Regions from separate parts of the Homo sapiens genome. Here regions 1 and 2 are each linked to region 3. The links are contacts of gene promoters, found by promoter capture Hi-C in blood cells and fetal thymus (Javierre and others, 2016). All regions are on one chromosome and are shown on one strand. The core of a region is centred on a gene start or on the middle of the fragment in contact, and the rest is flanking DNA. Distances in the headings are between cores, read along the strand shown.

Region 1 (3,147 bases), core at 81-2,580, 350 kb before region 3:
GGGGAGCTGCTTCCTCAAACTCCTGTCAACTAAGCTTTCTGTGATCTGTCAGAGGAGGGAGAAGCTGCTGGGGCCTGAAGGGACAAGTGCCAACTTGCAATAAGGAGACCCTGGAACGCCAGGCAGAACATCACTCCCCAGTCATCCCGTCCTCTGGGTAATGATGCTCAATGGCCTCATAGCTGCTTCTCCCGCAGGACACAATTTCAGTGTCATTGTGGAGGTAGAGAATGCCACACAGAAAGAGGACCCAAAGCCAAGGAGGCAGCAGACTGGAGAGGCTCACAGCTTCTGGGCACCGAAGCCGAAGCTGACTTCCCCATCCCATTAGAGACAGGCTTGGAGGGGCCAAACACCATCAGAACAATTTTCCCTGGCAGAGAAGCCCGGGACTAGAGCAAATCCAACTTTGGGAGGCCGAGGCAGGCAGATCACAAGGTCAGGAGTTCGAGACCAGCCTGACCAACATGGTGAAAACCCGTCTCTACTAAAAATACAAAAATTAGCCGGGTGTGGTGGCAGACACCTGTAATCCCAGCTACTCAGGAGGTTGAGGCAGGAGCATCACTTGAACCCATAAGGCAGAGGTTGCAGTGAGCTGAGATCAAGACATCACACTCCAGCCTGGGCCACAGAGTGAAACTCCATCTCAAAAAACAAACAAACAAAAAAACTAAACAAAAATAAAAAACCACCACCACCACCACCACCACCACCAACAACAACAACAAAAAACTGCTTGTTGCATTCATTTGGCACCAAGCTTACGGCCCATTCTTCTGAGTTCGGGCCTGGGGCCCTACGGTCACCTCTCACTCTATACCACCCCCAGCTTGGTCTGATTCCATTTAATTTCATAGTCTATGGATTACCCACGATGTGCTGGGGACATATTACACAGAGACCACATATTAATAGGGGAGACAGACACAAGTAACTACACACTAAACTTAATGCATGATTTAGGAGCTACAAAGTATCTAGAAACCACCAAGAAAGGAAAGATTTTAACAGTAGGATCACATCTAAATATTCAGCATCCTATGAAAGATTCTTGGCAGACTGGTCCTCATAATGGTGATAATATGCTTTCCTTGATTTGAAGATGCACACTTTTCGTACTTTGGTGTTTCTGAGATTCAGCTGCTTCTTACAATTGATGTGTGCATTTAATGTGGTTTATTCTGCTTGCCAAAGAAGAAAAAAGCTGATAATTAACAGATAGTTCAGTTTTTTCAACTGATGAGAACCTAGACAGAGGGAAATATATTAATAATAACACAGCACTAATGGGCTAGACAATATGCTAAATGTTATGTGAACATCTCATTTCATCCTCACAACCAACCTAACATGGAGAACAATTGTCAAAGCCATTTTCCAGGCAAAGAAACAAAGAGAAATAGCTTTCCCAAGGTCACGGCAGGCGAGGAGCAGAGTTGGGATTCAAATTTAACCCTCTTTGGCTCCAGAGTCCATGATCTTAATCTCAAATGCTACCTGTTCACATCTCTCTTCCTTTACTAAACTGGTTCCTCTGCCGGGAAGACTTCTGCCACTCCTCGTTCTAAGACTTGCTTCTCTAGATAAGGCAGGGTCAAATGGTATCTTTCCTGTAACTATTTCCCTGACCACTTGATACAGCTTGAATTTTTCCTCCTCTGAACTCCCATAGCAATCTTGTCACACTGGTAGAGTATAACTTACTATACTGCATTACAGCTGTCAGTATAACTTTATTCCTCATTACAGTGTGAGTGTCTTAAAGGCAGAGACTCTCTCCTACTCGTCTTTATATACCCAGGGCCCAATACAGTGCCTGGAAAACAATTGTTGTTGGCTGAGCTGCTTAAAAAATGTGTTTTCCCTACTTCGTTGAGATATAGAGAAAGCTTTACAGACTTTTAAATGATAATTTATTGAGTACAAACTACTGACATAATATTAGCTAAGAGCTTTATATGCTCTTATACTTTTTGTGAGAAGAAATGAGATAATCAGTGTAAAACACTTAAAATAGCGTATGGCACATGGTAAGGATTCAATCACGTTATTTTTTAATTATTATCACTATTTAACCATTGTGAAAATTCACTGAGTAGTTACTATGATTGTTAGTGTTCTATAAATAAGGCAACTGAGTAATAGAAGGCGAAGAAACTTATTCACTGTCAAACAGACAATGAAGGACAGATTTTGATCATTTATGTGTATGTATCAAATCTTACCTCATGGATACATTTTTCATAATTTTACACAGTGCAGGGGGTATCTCTGCCTGTTCTCTAGACTTCCAGTGCCTGTTAGCTCTTCTGTACAATCATGTTGGAGCTGCTCACTGATCTTTAGGTGCTGCTCAACTCCAGGTTTTCTTGTTATTTAAATCTTTTCTTCAGCCTCTCTGCTCCAAAACCTGGAAGATCTGAAAGAAAAACTTGGCTGAATATGGTTGTGTCTCTGACAAAGACTGCTGTTCTGCTGACGTTTCTCTGAGATCTGTAACAACTCTGTCTGCATCCCAAGCCATGGGTTTGGTGAGCTGCTTAAAATTGGCAGTCAAAACTCTGATTTGACCATAAAGACATATGTATGCATATGTTCATCACAGCGCTTTTCACAATAGCAAAGACATGGAATCAACCTAGATGCCCATTAACAGTGGACTGGAAAAAGAAAATGTGGTATATATACACCATAGAATACTATGCTGCCATCAAAAAGAATAAAATCATGGCTTTTGGAGCAACATGGATGCAGCTGGTGGCCATTATCCTAAATGAACTAATACAGGAACAGAAAACCAAATCGTGCATGTTCTTATTTATAAGTGGGAGGTAAACATTGAGTACACAGGGACACAAAGAGGAGAACAATAGACACTGGGGCCTACTTGAGGTTGGAGGATGGGATTGAAAAACTGCCTGTCTGGTACTATGCTCACTACCTGGATGATGAAATCATTTGTACACCAAACTCCAGTGACACGCAATTTACCCACATAACAAACCTGCACAGGTACCCTCTGAACCTAAAAGTTGGAAGGAAAAACAAACCCAAAAGGAAGCCCCTATGATTTGAAGAAACTTGCAGTAGTCAAAACTTGTCATTCTAAAGTTGAGCCACAAGGAAGCAGTAGTGTCCTAGCTG
Region 2 (3,293 bases), core at 559-3,058, 390 kb after region 3:
ATGAAATATTGCCACCGTTTATTCACCTAACAAATACTTCTATGGTACTACTATGTGTCACTTGCTGTCCTAAGTGCTTTACATATATTAACTCATTTAATTCTTACAAATATTCTATGAGATAGGCTCCATTATCATCCCACTTTTACAGATACGAAAACCAACGCACAGAAGTTCAAATAACTTGCCCAAGATCACATAGCTAGAAAGCAGTAGAACCAGAATTCCAGCCTCAAGCAGTTTGGCGCCAGAGTCTAGGTTCTTGACCTCTCTGCTATGCTGTCCCTCATTAGACAAAGTATCAACCTTAATCCCAGAATCCAATACTAGGGACTGGTAACCAAACCCAACCTCTAATATTTAAGCTCTAACCCACTCCAGGCTTAAATTAAGATACTACACCTGTATTGAATCATAACCAGAACCAAGCCCCCAAACAAAACAGGGATTATTCATCTTTTTCTCATCCTGACACATTCCTCAACCCCGAATGTCATCTTAAGTCTATTCCTATTCCTTACCCAAATATCAATACAAAATTGTTAATTTATCAACTAATTTAACTCAAGCCCAAATCCTAACTGTAGTTCTTAACCTAACTAACCCCAACCCTGGTCCAAATTAGGTTTCAGTTTCCTCACTGATACAAATTCTGATGCTGATGGTAACTCTGACTCTGATCTTGACATTCTCTGTAACCCACAGTATGACCTCTGAACCCAGCGTTCGTGAAATCCAAACCTCAGGAACCTCAAATCGAACAAAGACTCTGTTATCACCCTTAAAGCCCAGAGTGGATAGTGGGTTTCCACTGTTCCTTCAAAATGTCTTGTCTTATGTCCCTTGCGACCAAAAGCTTGCTTCTGCAAACCATTTGGCTGCAGTGGGGGATGTGGTCTGTGGTTACATAATAGAATGCTATGCCAGAGCCCAATTCTCACCCGCACCCGCCTCATTCCCCACCCTGAGCATAAATTCATCTGAATGTACTCCAAAGACGGGAAAGAACAGAAAGATGTGACACAGGGGGAAAGAGCGTGCAGAGAAGACCAGAAGGGGAGACAAGAGCAAAGAAGCAAATAACATAACAGGGATGGAATAAGAGCCAGCGGAGGGTCAGGGGCAGGGGACATCCCTGGGGCAGCATGACATGACAGGTGAAGGGGGCCTGTGGGCTACACCCAGTTCACAGACCTCTTTCTTTGGTGTGCTTAAAGTGTTACAAGGTTGGAAAATTTCACATAAAAATGAAGATTTATCTTGAAAAAAAAAGGGAAGGCTCTGGCAACACTGAGCACACATCCCAACATGGCCACAATCGGCTAGAGCTGAGCATCAGCTGCAAATTTCAGATGGAGCATTGCTCTCAAGTTTGTCACGGTCTCCATTTCTTCCTACTGCCTCATACCCTGCTTCTTTACTTGCTTATGTTATGGGCCTAACCCAAATAGGGATTTGGGTTTGTGATCCTGGTCTCTTTGATGAGCCTTGAAATATTTGGTGGGTGTTGGGTGGTGGGGAGGAGGCTTATGTTGTGCATGGGAGGCTGTGGATGTACTTCTCCTTTGCAGAGAGTAATGCCCTTCCCTGCCAGGTACACTCCTGCCCTGGTCTGTGAACCCTCCTGCAGGAGGCACCCTGGGGAGAACAGGGTCTCCATAGAGCTGAGTTGGTGACCTTTACTGCCCATAGGAAAAATAGAATCCTGTGCATCTCGATGTAATGAGAAATTTAACCGGGACGCTGCCTGCCAGTGTGACCGCCGGTGTCTCTGGCATGGGAACTGCTGTGAAGACTATGAACATCTGTGTACTGGTGAGCCTCCTTGTGAGACGAAGGCATGTCCAGCCTGTCTAAGGGGCCACTGGCCTGGGTGTCCAGCAGGCCAGAGCAGCGTTCAGGACTCACAGGGGCTCTAAGGGTCTGGACAGAAAGCACTGAGGGACAGAGGCAGGGTCAGGAATTTGGCCACCACTTTTCTCAGGTTTTCTAGGATGCCCCCAACTTAAAATACAGTAGATGTCATTTACCTAGAATTTCTGTCTGAAATATCAGTTTTAACAATATCTTGAAAGTTTAAGTACTAAATTCTAAAAAAGGGTAAAATGATAAAAATAATATTTTAGTATGTATGACATTATTAATTGTTATTCAACACTTTAAATCACAAAAATGTAAAAATGGTAGCAAACTCTCACAACTTGTGTACTGCCAGGAAGACTGCATGGTGTCACAGTGACGGACACGATTCATACCACTCTTCCTCTAGTGAAGGGACCACGTGGTGCAACATCTCCATACCATCATTTCCAGCCTACCAATTAGAACAGGACATGCACCACCTTTAACTGCATAGTTTTAAATGAATACTTGAAAAAAATCTTGTATGAATAATCAACTTGTTTAGGTGCTTCCAATGTTGTCAACTCCCAGATTAATGATCTTCTGCTTTGTGACACAAAGCCTTGATGTCAAGCCATGCACTCTGACTCCCAGTTTTGAAAACATGGTCACTGAAGCCACGTTAGGTAATGGCCATCAATTTCACTGCATAATCATTGCACAGGTTGTGCGTTGTGCAAGGGAACCTAGTTAAGCAGCAAGCTGGACCAAAATCCAGTCTGTATCCTTCTCATCAGGTTTTGTGCACTGGTGAAGAGTTGTGTCTGCTGAGAGAAACAAGTGTGTTTTCTGAATTTGCCCAAAGGTGGTAGCCAGTCAAGCACCCACAGAGCTGCTTCCACTCGTATGGAAGCTTTTTTTCAATTTATACAAAAACACCATATGTATTAGTCCATTTTCATACTGCTATGAAGAAATACCCGAGACTGGGTAATTTGTAAAGAAAAAGAGGTTTAATAGACTCACCGTTCCACATGGCTGGGGAGGCCGCACAATCATGGTGGAAGGCAAAGGAGGCGCAAAGACACATCTTACATGGTGGCAGGCAAAGTGCGGGGGAACTGCACTTTATAAAACCATAAGATATCGTGAGACTTATTCACTATCACGAGAACCAGCACAGGAAAAACCCGTCCCCATGATTCAGTTACCTCTCACCAGGTCCCTCCCGTGACACATGGGAATTATGTGAGCTACCATTCAAGATGAGATTTGAGGGGGGACACAGCCAAACCATATCACCATATAAGCATATGTATTATACATTAGCACCACATATATATTAGCACACACACATACACCTCCTTCCCCAGGCAGGGAGACCCAGGCCGAGATCAGCCGGAATCAGAGCCTATGCCTTTTCTGCTGTCCTTGTGTCCCCACTTTTTCTT
Region 3 (3,263 bases), core at 283-2,782:
GTGATCAATATTTTATCAAAGTGAGAATGTGATAAACAAGGTCAGTTGACCCCTAAAATCCGTATTTACACTAGAAAGCCTCACATCCTGTATTTAGACTTCTTGTGAGAGAACCCATTCTCTGTCACTGGAGTATGATCAGGAGACAAGGGTACCTGTTCTCTGAGGAGTCCTGACTAACTGGCGAGACTGAATCACACACATGAAAAATTTCAGATGAAACTCGTCTTTATGCATGGCTGCCTCCTAGAAATAGAGACAGAGTTTAATCCAAACGAACAGAGCTGTGAAATAAGATGTCAGTGACTGACATGGACCAGCTACACTCATGACTACTTGGCCTTAGGACTTGACAATATAATATAAAAGTATCAGCACATGAGGCAATACAAATAATCTACTTTGATGTATTTGACAGGGGAGGAAACCCTGAACTCAGCAAGCTGCTGAGAGTATCAGAAAGGCTGGGGGCCTCCAGAAACTGCCCTTCTTTAAGTCTGAGCTCAGACTGTGCCTGTGGCTGTGATCTGGGTGTAAAGGACCTATTAAGGGGGCATTTCTCTAAGACTTCTACAGGGCCTGGGTCCAGAGGCCTGCCAAGCTGAGGTGCTTGACAAAAAGCCTGAATGAACAAACATATTTCTTCCCATTATGTTCTCTTAGAAAGTATGGCAGATTCCAGGTTAATCAATGTGTCCCAGGAACAACAAAGCCCTTCAAAGGTCACAGGTGATTCCTGGGTCCTTCTCTATCTCTACCCAGAAAAGCAGATCTCTAGTGGGCTCCCAAAAGCTTTCCTCACAGCTCTGCCTGTTTCAAATTCCTCCAGAGTTCTGGAAGGTTCTACATCTTGCCAGAGTCTAGCCTAATCCGTCCTCAAGTTGCTTGTTTGTTTGTTTGTTTGCTTGCTGAATGGTCAATCAAGTATGAGGTGGTGCAGAGTACAGGATTGCAAGTTAAGAAACTTGTTTCCTAGTCCTAGATGGGCCGTGCACTTAAAACCTTTGGGAAATCACTTCACTTCTCTGAACCTGGTAAGACTAAAGTATCTCCAATAACCTCTACAAGCACTAACGTTCTGTGATTCTCAATAAAACACGAGATAGCCTGAGATCGATTTAGATCTCAGGTCCCTATCTGTCGGGGGAAGCCACAGGTTTCCGCAGATTTAGGGCCACCGCGAAAAGCTGCCATGGAAACTGGAACGCAAGCAAGCAAAACTCGCCGGGCGGAACCAGAAGGCGGCGGGTAAGGGAGCAGAGGGAACAGAGAAAAGCATAGGACGAAGGGCTCACTAACAGTATTCCGAGTACGAGAAAGCGAAAAAGCCCAGACTGAAAAGGGTACTGAGAAATTACGACTAGTCTTAAATGCTCCCTTCGCTTCTCGGGCCTCGCCACACCGCGCAGGCGCCCCACTGGTCCTTAACTCTGTTCTTTGACCTCCTGCCCCAGCCCCCTCCTCTTCAGCCACCTAGCGACTCTTCCGGTGCTGTGAAGGCGGTTCCGGTTCGCGGCGGTTCCCGGGTTTTGCGTTCCGCGCCCGGCCGGAAACCCCTTCGCATGGCAGCCGGTTCCGGTTCGGTGAGTGGCGGCGGGAAGCTGGGGGAGGGGTGAGGATGGAGGGAGCCTGGTCCAGGAGACTGTGTCGGACCCGGTCAGCCGGCCCGGGCTGGACTGGGCGGAAGCGGGGAGCACTGTGGGGCCGGCGCCTTTTCCTCTGCCCCGCCCCCTGGGACCACCTCCCCTCCCCCCTGCTGTCCGGTGGCCGCGCTGTGGCCGCCGGTGGCCGTTAGGCTACCTGAGGCCGTTCCTTCTGGTCTCTCTCTCCTGGGCCGCGGAGAGACCGTCTCCCTGCCGTTACAGCAGGCCCCATCCCAGCGCCCAGCCGTACTTGGGGAAAGGCCGGTTGCGATTCCGGGGCTTTCCCGCCAGAGCTGGGTCTTCTCTGGGGAGAGCTGTTTTCACCGGGAAGCTCGGCTTTCTGTGGTACCGGCTTCATCTCCCGCCTTCCTTGAGACCCGAGTGATATTTCTTGACTACTTCTGCGTCTCACGTAAACATTTCTCCAACTCTCCTACTCTGTGGTATCTCCCTGAGATGTGATATCGCTAGTGCCACCATCAGAAAGAAACGTCTGGACCCTCCTGCTCAGGTTATGAAAATCCCCTTAACTGCCACAATTTGCTTACCTGGCTCATCGCCTCCTGGTAATTCCCTTGAACCGTCTCTTTCTTGGTGTACCCTAACGTGATCTCTGGATCTATGCCTCGTTTCTCTTTCCTTGAGCTTGGTGATTTCTGTTTATCGGTGCCTGTGCAGTATTTCCACTATCTTGTTAGCAGTAACTTGCTTCTTTATCACTTTCAAGTCAGCCTTGTTAAAGTCATTTTACTTCATATTTGGTACACTTATTATATTTGGAGTGGTGGTGATTCTTGTAATATTCATATAAAGCCTTTTATCTACTACCAACTATTTGACTGAGGGTCTTTGTTATAATTGGTTATTCTGGATGTATTAGATCTCATCATCTCCTAAATCTTTATTCTTCATAAAAATAATTTGTGTTAAGGACTCATGTTGAAATACAGATTACCCTGACTTTGAAATTACAGTTAAAGCGCAACTTTAAGCATCTCTATAAGCATGATCCCTTAACCTACTTCCAGTTTACACTCTACCACCCTTTATTTTTCCTCTCTAGTCCCTTTTAGGAAGGCTTATTCATTTTTAACTGACTTCAATTAATTATCCCAACTGCAAAGATGGTCTTCATGTCACTCATCTAATGAGTTGTCTAGAGGGAGTGGATGGGTACAAAAACAGGTTCTGCTACTTCTGGCTAAGGGAATGCAGTTGTTGACTTGCATTGCGGCTTTGGAACTCTTGTCCTTTTCTTCCCAACTTCTACATCTTCTATCAGTTGTACCAGCTCTACTGTCTTGCGGTACCTGTTTATGGATCTGGCTTTCCCTACTGGACAGTGAGCTGCTCAGTGGCAGGGACCCTTTCTTAATGCACGTAGTCGGTGCACAGTAAATGAATGTGTATGAAAGAATTTGAACACTTAGGGTTTACGGCGTTAGAGTGTTAAGGTATTTAAGGTGTTAGAGTGATTGGGAGAGATTACATGTAAAAATAGAAGGAAAGAACCTCAAACACATGACGATATAGTACAAACTATTGTACACATAATTGTTTTTCAGAACTTGGAAAAGGGTGATTTCACATGGTTGCTTTCACACCCTTCTTATATCATAA

Evidence for each region. Contacts are between HindIII fragments. The CHiCAGO score rates a contact against its expected background, and 5 or more counts as called.
Region 1: a contact is called between a fragment that was not itself captured here and the fragment with the promoter of SENP1 in region 3, in 4 of 17 cell types (M2 macrophages, M1 macrophages, naive CD4 T cells and 1 more). The highest score is 5.7, in M2 macrophages.
Region 2: a contact is called between a fragment that was not itself captured here and the fragment with the promoter of SENP1 in region 3, in 1 of 17 cell types (fetal thymus). The highest score is 5.0, in fetal thymus.

What each region holds. Positions count from the first base shown.
Region 1 is chr12:48,454,856-48,458,002 of GRCh38, reverse strand. It overlaps a transcript of C12orf54 not described here. Among named protein-coding and RNA genes, the nearest start is that of ANP32D, 16 kb to the left of the region's middle. The HindIII fragment of the contact is 1,129 bases long and covers 766-1,894 here.
Region 2 is chr12:47,719,275-47,722,567 of GRCh38, reverse strand. It overlaps ENDOU (endonuclease, poly(U) specific), which reads left to right. Exons shown (of 10, transcript NM_001172439.2): 2 at 1,693-1,815. RPAP3-DT (RPAP3 divergent transcript) reads right to left here. Exons shown (of 4, transcript NR_183480.1): 3 at 2,869-2,968. Among named protein-coding and RNA genes, the nearest start is that of ENDOU, 4.6 kb to the left of the region's middle. The HindIII fragment of the contact is 1,899 bases long and covers 859-2,757 here.
Region 3 is chr12:48,104,348-48,107,610 of GRCh38, reverse strand. It overlaps SENP1 (SUMO specific peptidase 1), which reads left to right and starts at 1,532. Exons shown (of 18, transcript NM_001267594.2): 1 at 1,532-1,583. It also overlaps a transcript of PFKM not described here. RefSeq lists enhancers at 786-1,659, 1,945-2,154, 1,660-2,535 and a silencer at 1,665-1,804. The HindIII fragment of the contact is 3,654 bases long and covers 795-3,263 here.